2 separate regions of the Homo sapiens genome follow, and region 2 is linked to region 1. Evidence: promoter capture Hi-C in 16 types of primary human blood cells and fetal thymus (Javierre and others, 2016). All regions are on one chromosome and are shown on one strand. Each heading gives the region's core, a stretch centred on a gene start or on the middle of the fragment in contact. The rest is flanking DNA. Distances are from core to core; before and after follow the strand shown. Region 1 holds the start of ZNF18 (zinc finger protein 18). Region 2 holds the start of WSB1 (WD repeat and SOCS box containing 1).

Region 1 (3,282 bases), core at 537-3,036:
TTCCATCAGATTCACAAAGGAGTCAGAACCCAATTAATGGTTTTGAATTACTGTTATCTTCCTTGGGTGTTGATCAGCTAAAAGCGAACACATTGAAGATAAAACTCCTATAATCTTCCCCTCTAAACCACCTTATCTCTTGACTTTCTTAGAAGCAGAGCACATTGATGTTGGAAGCAATACCCAATGAAGGTGTCCCTCTAAATGTGCCTGGTAAATTGTTAGCCATGCTGTCCTCAGGAACTCAAAGCAGCGCCATCAATCACATGAATGTTAGAAACGTCCAGCTAGGTGCCATGGCTCATGCCTGTAATCCCAGCACTTTGGGAGGCCAAGGTGGGTGGATCACTTGAGGTCACGAGTTCGAGACCAGCCTGGCCAACATGGTGAAACCCCGTCTCCACCAAAAATACAAAAAAAAAAAAAAAAAAAAAAAAAGACTAGAAACTTCCACCTATGTCAGGCTGAAACAGTAGTTTCACACATAGGATCTTGTTCAGACCCTGGGACTTAAGAGAACATGTCGAATCCCTTTTCCGCTGGTCACTTTTCAGGTACATGAAGATGTAATCCCATCCCCGCATCAAGCTTTATTTCTCCAGAGGAGGATCTTTAATTCTTGTAAACATGGGACAGGTACAGGACATGTTATGATAATGACAGGTACAGGACATGTTATGATAATGACAGGTACAGGACATGTTATGATAATGACAGGTACAGGACATGTTATGATAATGACAGGTACAGGACATGTTATGATAATGACAGGTACAGGACATGTTATGATAATGACAGCTCTTCTTTAAATTTTTATTTTTTATTTATTTTATTTCCATAGGTTATTGGGGAACATGGCAGCTTTTTTTGAATACCCTCCTCTTTGCCAGTTGCCCAAGGTGGAACACCCAAACTTTGACATGATACTTCCATTAATGCAACTTAGTATCACAAGTTGATGTCGTGGCCCAGCACAGGATGGCCTGGAAACCGGCAACACTGGACGCTGGGGAAAGGGTAAGAAGGTCTTGACCATTACAAATGGTGTGGAACTGAGCCGAGGGAGGGATAGTGAGAAGGGAGAGAGGGTGAGGTGTCTGAGAGACAATGAGGTCAAATCAGAGGATTCAGCCATTGTTGGCGTGTGGGAAAGGGAAGGAGAAGGGAAGAGTCAGGGATGACATTTGTTGAGAGAGAGAGAGAGAAGAGAGAGAGACGCAGGTGGAAAGAGGATGGCACCACATTGGACTAGCCCCAACGGAATGGGGAGAAGTGGGAGAGGACCCAGGGGATGCAGAGCTGATGAGAGTGGGAGAACCAAGACAGAGGAAGAAGGTTGGGGCAAATCAAGTGTCTCAGGGAGGCCCAGTGAGGCAAGAACGGAAAGGAGAAAGGCGGCGGTTAAGAATCAGGGATAATGGCAGAGCGTTGCAGCTCTGCGGGTGGGACTGGGCGGAAGGGTTTGGGAGAGACAAAGAAATGATCTTTGAAGGCCTCGCAGTGCTTGGCCGAGTGCCTGGCACAGAATAGGTGCGCAATAAATGACGGGTGAGAAGTGAAGGAACTCAGGAACAGTGATTAGTGAGTGAGTGACGGAAGGAACGGAGGATGGCGTTGGCTCGGGAACCTCGCTGCCATGTCGGTGGAGGCTCCTGGGCTGCAACGCCAGAGAGAGGCGGGGCGTCCCCGACGGCCAATAGGAGCTTCGGTATCAGCTCCGCCCCCGCCCCCTAGCTCCGCCCGGTGCCGCACGTCGTTCGCCTGCCGCCTGAGGCGCGCGCAGCCACCCAGCTCCCGGAAGTGCGCCCGGAGCCGGCGCCGCGGGCCGAGGTGAGCGCGCTTGCGGGGCGGTCCCGGCCTCCGGCCGCTCGGGGTCAGGCCTTGCGCTATCTGCGTCCGCACCTGACTCAGCTGGGCACCCCGGAGCTACGGAGGGGCCAGCGGGCTCCCTTGCCCATGCGTCTGGGAGCGCGCGGGGGACGTGGCGAGTGCGGGGCCGGGGCAGCCATGGCTGGGAGTGGACCGTGGGTGCGGGGGGATGTGTGAACCCCGTCCCGGCTCTGCATTCCTGCGCCTCTGCGCCCCGCGGGACCGGCCGGGTCTCTGCACTGGGACCGAAAACGGGCTCCTCCCCGCTGTCTTCCCCTAAGGGCTGAAAATGAGTCTCTGGAAGAGGAAACCCGATGGGATGATGCCTGGAGTCTCTCCCTCTCTCATCAGAGTGCAGTCGGCATTTGGGGGGCGCATGGTGGAGAATACATATCCAATGAGCAGCGCTGCCCTGGCCTCGAGCACTAAATGCCAGTTCCCCTAGCTGCTTGTGACAACCAGAAAACGCCCCAACAAATCACCAGACGTTGGCAGTTCTCCCCAAAGCAAAGGCTTTAGAGCTTCCTGGGTTAATCTGGCTGCCACTTGTGAGCCTCGGAGGTTCCTGATCTGTACACCAGGGTAATTGTGGGAATTGGAAATACATGAACCGAGCTTAATAATGAGCCGATACGTAGTAGGTGCTTAACAAATGGTTACTTATATATGTAACCATGTATGTAACCACTTGTGTATATTACACCTAGAATGCACTTTTAAAAATTCATTCTATTTGTTAAAGGTTTAATAACAGGTATAACAGACAACCTTATTTTTTTTTCATAACTAATGGGGGCAGTTCCTCATGAGGTTATCGGAATATAAACTCTATTAAATTTTTAATACTATATAAAGTAATTTAATTTTGAATAATCGAGACATTTTTCTTACACACTACCTGGGAGTATAATATTACTAACAAAAGATTTAAGTATTTTATAAAATCTGTAGTTTTTCCAAAATGTCATTTCTCTTAAATATTATCTAAACTGCTATCTTAATTTAGGAAACAGATAAATTGCAGTAAGTTTACAGGTCGGTATCTTGCTATCTAAAATCTTGCCGCTTGTTATTTGAAACTCTTGAGCCAAATAGGTTGGATTTACAAAGCAAGGTATTTTTAAAAATATATTTATTCGTTTTTTAAGATGTTATTTGAAACTGTAGGTTTACCTCTGAGCTAAAGCTGCTTTTCAGGTGGTTTGATAATGCTGTCATTGTCACTCAGTATGAAAACATATTTTAATTTCCTTTGTGATTTTTTTCTTTGACTATGGGTTAAGAGCATTATTTAGTAATTTCCATAAATTGGGATTTTCTAGTTATTGTTATTGATTTCTACTTTAATTGCACTATGATCAGAGAATATATTTGAACCCAGGAAGCTCTAAAGTTTTCCATTTGACCTTTCTG
Region 2 (3,282 bases), core at 421-2,920, about 15 Mb before region 1:
TACAGATTTAAAAAAAAGGCAGATCACTCGTCTATAACATTATGGTGTACTAAAGTAAAAGAAAAACCCACTGGACTGATAAGAACTTTTGAGTTCTTTGTCCCACTTCGCGACATACTTTCTAGTCTTAAAATACAGTTAAAATAATAACTGGACACAAATTCTGTGTTCTTTGCATCTTTTTTTTTCTTTTTTCTGTGTGAACTCTGCTACAATTTTTTCCCTTTTTTTTCTGTGTTTGTATCTTTAAAAATGGTTATTAAAACCAGGGTTAAAGTCCCTTCCTAATCAATCATCCCTAAGACAACAAAAGTCCAGAATTCTAAAACAGCTGTTTCTAGATATAAAAATTCACCCACATACAAAATAGTGCGCGTTTTGGCTACTTCAGCCTCTTCCCTTCTCTAGAAATAACTCCTCCTTGTACTTAGTAAAGGCACACATTCACTTCAAGAGTAGGAAAATGTAAATGCTCTCTGCTCAGCGGCCGCAGCTAATTATTACTTCACACAGTAAGATCAGTGTTTGCTAAGTGTTATCAGCCAATGTACAGCACCCCCCAACACCGTCAAACGTTGTTCCAGTTATTTTACTTTAAAAGAGGATTTAAATAATGCGACGTGCTTTCCACTGAGCCACTAAGTAGGTGTGGACGCACAACCTTCAACACTAATTGCCCTTTACTAAGCCGACCAGGGCTAGACACTAAGCCAGAAAAGCCTTTTCCAGAGTTTCCTCTTCCGCACAAAAGCTTTCCTTCTGTCACTCCACCCAACCACCCAGCTCCTCCCTTAAGTGTTTGAAAGATAATTCTAAAAGTCTCCTCCCCCGAACCGCTGCGTTTCTTAAGGCCACACCATTTTAAAAATACTGTATTGCTTTTGCCAGGCTGTTGGGACCTCTTCCATCTCATTTCTATCTAAGAGTGGTTGGTACACACGAGGACCCCCTCCTTTCATTACCGCTTACAACCCACAAGTTTACTTTTCCCCATTGTAAACCTAAAGTCCCTGAGTGGCCCTTCCCTGTCCACTCGACAGTCATGCCCTGAGCCAAGAACTCCCAGGACAAGAGCCCTGCGCGGACCTCCGACGAAGAAACCGGGGTCCTTGCCCGCCCCAGCCACACAGCAACCGCGAGGGAGCACAGTAGGTGCTGCATCCACGTCGGTGCCGTTTACCCCTCAGCCAACTCCCACCGAGGCGGCTTCCTCCTCCTCGCTAGTGGGCTGGCCCTGGCGCACTGGAGCTCTTCCCTCAGACTTGGAGTCGCTTCCTCCCAAACCTCCTCCGGGGAGTCCCTGCCTCTCCTCGGCCCTCATGCGCCCACCCACGGTCCCAATCCTCACCGATCTCTTTCTCGTTGACCCTCGGGGGAAAGCTGGCCATCTATGGGGCACCGTCTGATTCCGGGAATACGATGCGGACCCAACAACAGAGAAGAGAGTGGCGACCGCTGAGGGGCGTGACGCCAAGTTGGTCCCTCCCGGGCCCAGGGACAGAGGAGACGGGCGGGGGCGGCCGCTGCGGCTTCTGCTAACTGCCTCGGGAAAGCTCCCGAAGGCCTCAGACCAAAGTACGGAGTCAACCACAGACAATAGACCCTGTACCCAGCCTCGCGCCTGCGGAGGAAGACAGTTCCCCTAAAGCGCCGACTGCAAACGAGACACTGGAGTCAAAATGGCGGGCGGCGCCGGAGATATCTGGGCGGCAGGGGCGCGGCCACGTGACGTCACAGCCCGAGGCCCCCGCCTCCCGACGCACGGGACGTGATCTCCCCGGCCCGGCGCGGGCGTTGCCTGGGGGCCTCGCAGGGGGAGATCCAGCCCAGGCTGGTTCCGCTGACTCTGCCTGTAGGCCGGTGGCGTCTTCTGGGCCTGGATGGTCTAATATGGAGTTTATAAGCTGAAGTGGCTTTGAAAAGGGCAAGCAGAGAATTGTATTATTATTAGCCTCCTAGCTTAAAGATTGCATGGAACTTAAACTGGCTGAACCAAAAGAACAAAAAGACATTTCAGGTTTTCACTCAATTTGGCCAACTCCCCAGCCCACAAGTAATAGGGAACTGAAGGATGCACTGATGAAAAAGACAGGATGAAAATTAACATCGTTGTGCACCACCTGTCCAGCTGCGATTGTTCAGACCTGAGCCAGCAGGTTTTAGGAAGGGCCGAGGGGAACGAGAAGGAGACTCGGGCGTGATCGCGCCGCACCGCGCCGCGGGGCCTCTCTGGACTGCCTTTGTCCTGGCCAAGATGGATCCCACTGTCCTGGCCAAGATGGATCCCACTGTGTCAGCTCAGAATTGGCCCTTCCTCCACCTTACCTGAAGGCCTCTGGGAGGCACCTAGTTGTCCACACATCAGACTGATAAATGTGTCAGTATCTGCTAGATGCCAGCTTGGTTCCCGGTCACAGATGACGTATTTGCATTTTAATGGCTTCTCGTGTGGACCCTAAACATTGCAAAGGCCTGGGGCGTATAAGACTGGGAATTCAAATATGTGGCAGATATTCATGGGACAGAGTAGAGTGTTGCATAGCCGCTTTTTTTTTTTTTTTTTTTTTTTTTTTTGAGACGGAGTCTCGCTTCTCCCAGGCTGGGGTGCAATGGCGTGATCTTGGCTCACTGCAACCTCCGTTTCCCGGGTTCAGGCAATTCTCCTGCCTCAGCCTCCCCAGTAGCTGGGATTTGTACAGGCATGTGACACCAAGCCCGGGTAATTTTTGTATTTTTAGTACAGAGGGCGTTTCACCCTGTTGGCCAGGCTAGTCTCGAACTCCTGGCCTCGAGTGATCCGCCCGCCTCAGCCTCCCAAAGTGCTGGGATTACAACGTGAGCCACCACGCCCGGCTGCATAGCCGCTTTTAAGAGATCTCAAATGATAACACTGTAGGGCATGTTTACTTCATCTTTTCTTTGCATGAGTGTATTAATTCTTCAAATAGCGAAATGTTTAATAAAACATCGCCCCTCCTTTTTTTTTTTTTTGGTTATTTATTTATTTTTTTTTTTGAGACGGAGTCTTGCTCTGTCTCCCAGAGCAGAGTGCAGTGGCGCCAACTCGGCTCACTGCAACCTCTGCCTCCCGGGTTCAGGCGATTCTCCTGCCTCAGCCTCCCGAGTAGCTGGGACTACAGGTGGCTGCCACCACGCCCAGCTAATTTTTTTCATCCTTTTAGTAGGGAGGGGGTTTCACGATATTGGCCAGGCTGGTCTTGAACTCCTGACCTTGTGATCTGCCCACCTCGGCCTCTCAAAGTGCTAGGATTAGAGGCGTTA

Evidence for each region. The method cuts DNA at HindIII sites, captures the fragments that hold promoters and counts their contacts. A CHiCAGO score of 5 or more calls a contact.
Region 2: a contact is called between the fragment with the promoter of WSB1 here and the fragment with the promoter of ZNF18 in region 1, in 3 of 17 cell types (total CD4 T cells, non-activated CD4 T cells and activated CD4 T cells). The highest score is 12.9, in total CD4 T cells.

Annotation. Positions count from the first base shown.
Region 1 is chr17:11,995,979-11,999,260 of GRCh38, reverse strand. It overlaps ZNF18 (zinc finger protein 18), which reads left to right and starts at 1,786. Exons shown (of 7, transcript NM_001303281.2): 1 at 1,786-1,830. RefSeq lists enhancers at 1,218-1,297, 1,368-1,607, 722-1,705 and a silencer at 1,638-2,087. The HindIII fragment of the contact is 4,230 bases long and covers 591-3,282 here.
Region 2 is chr17:27,292,502-27,295,783 of GRCh38, reverse strand. WSB1 (WD repeat and SOCS box containing 1) reads right to left here and starts at 1,670. Exons shown (of 9, transcript NM_015626.10): 1 at 1,349-1,670. The coding sequence starts at 1,388. MIR4522 (microRNA 4522) reads left to right here and starts at 1,788; the gene lies at 1,788-1,874. RefSeq lists enhancers at 1,392-1,451, 1,462-1,521, 1,892-1,941 and a silencer at 1,642-1,851. The HindIII fragment of the contact is 5,795 bases long and covers 754-3,282 here.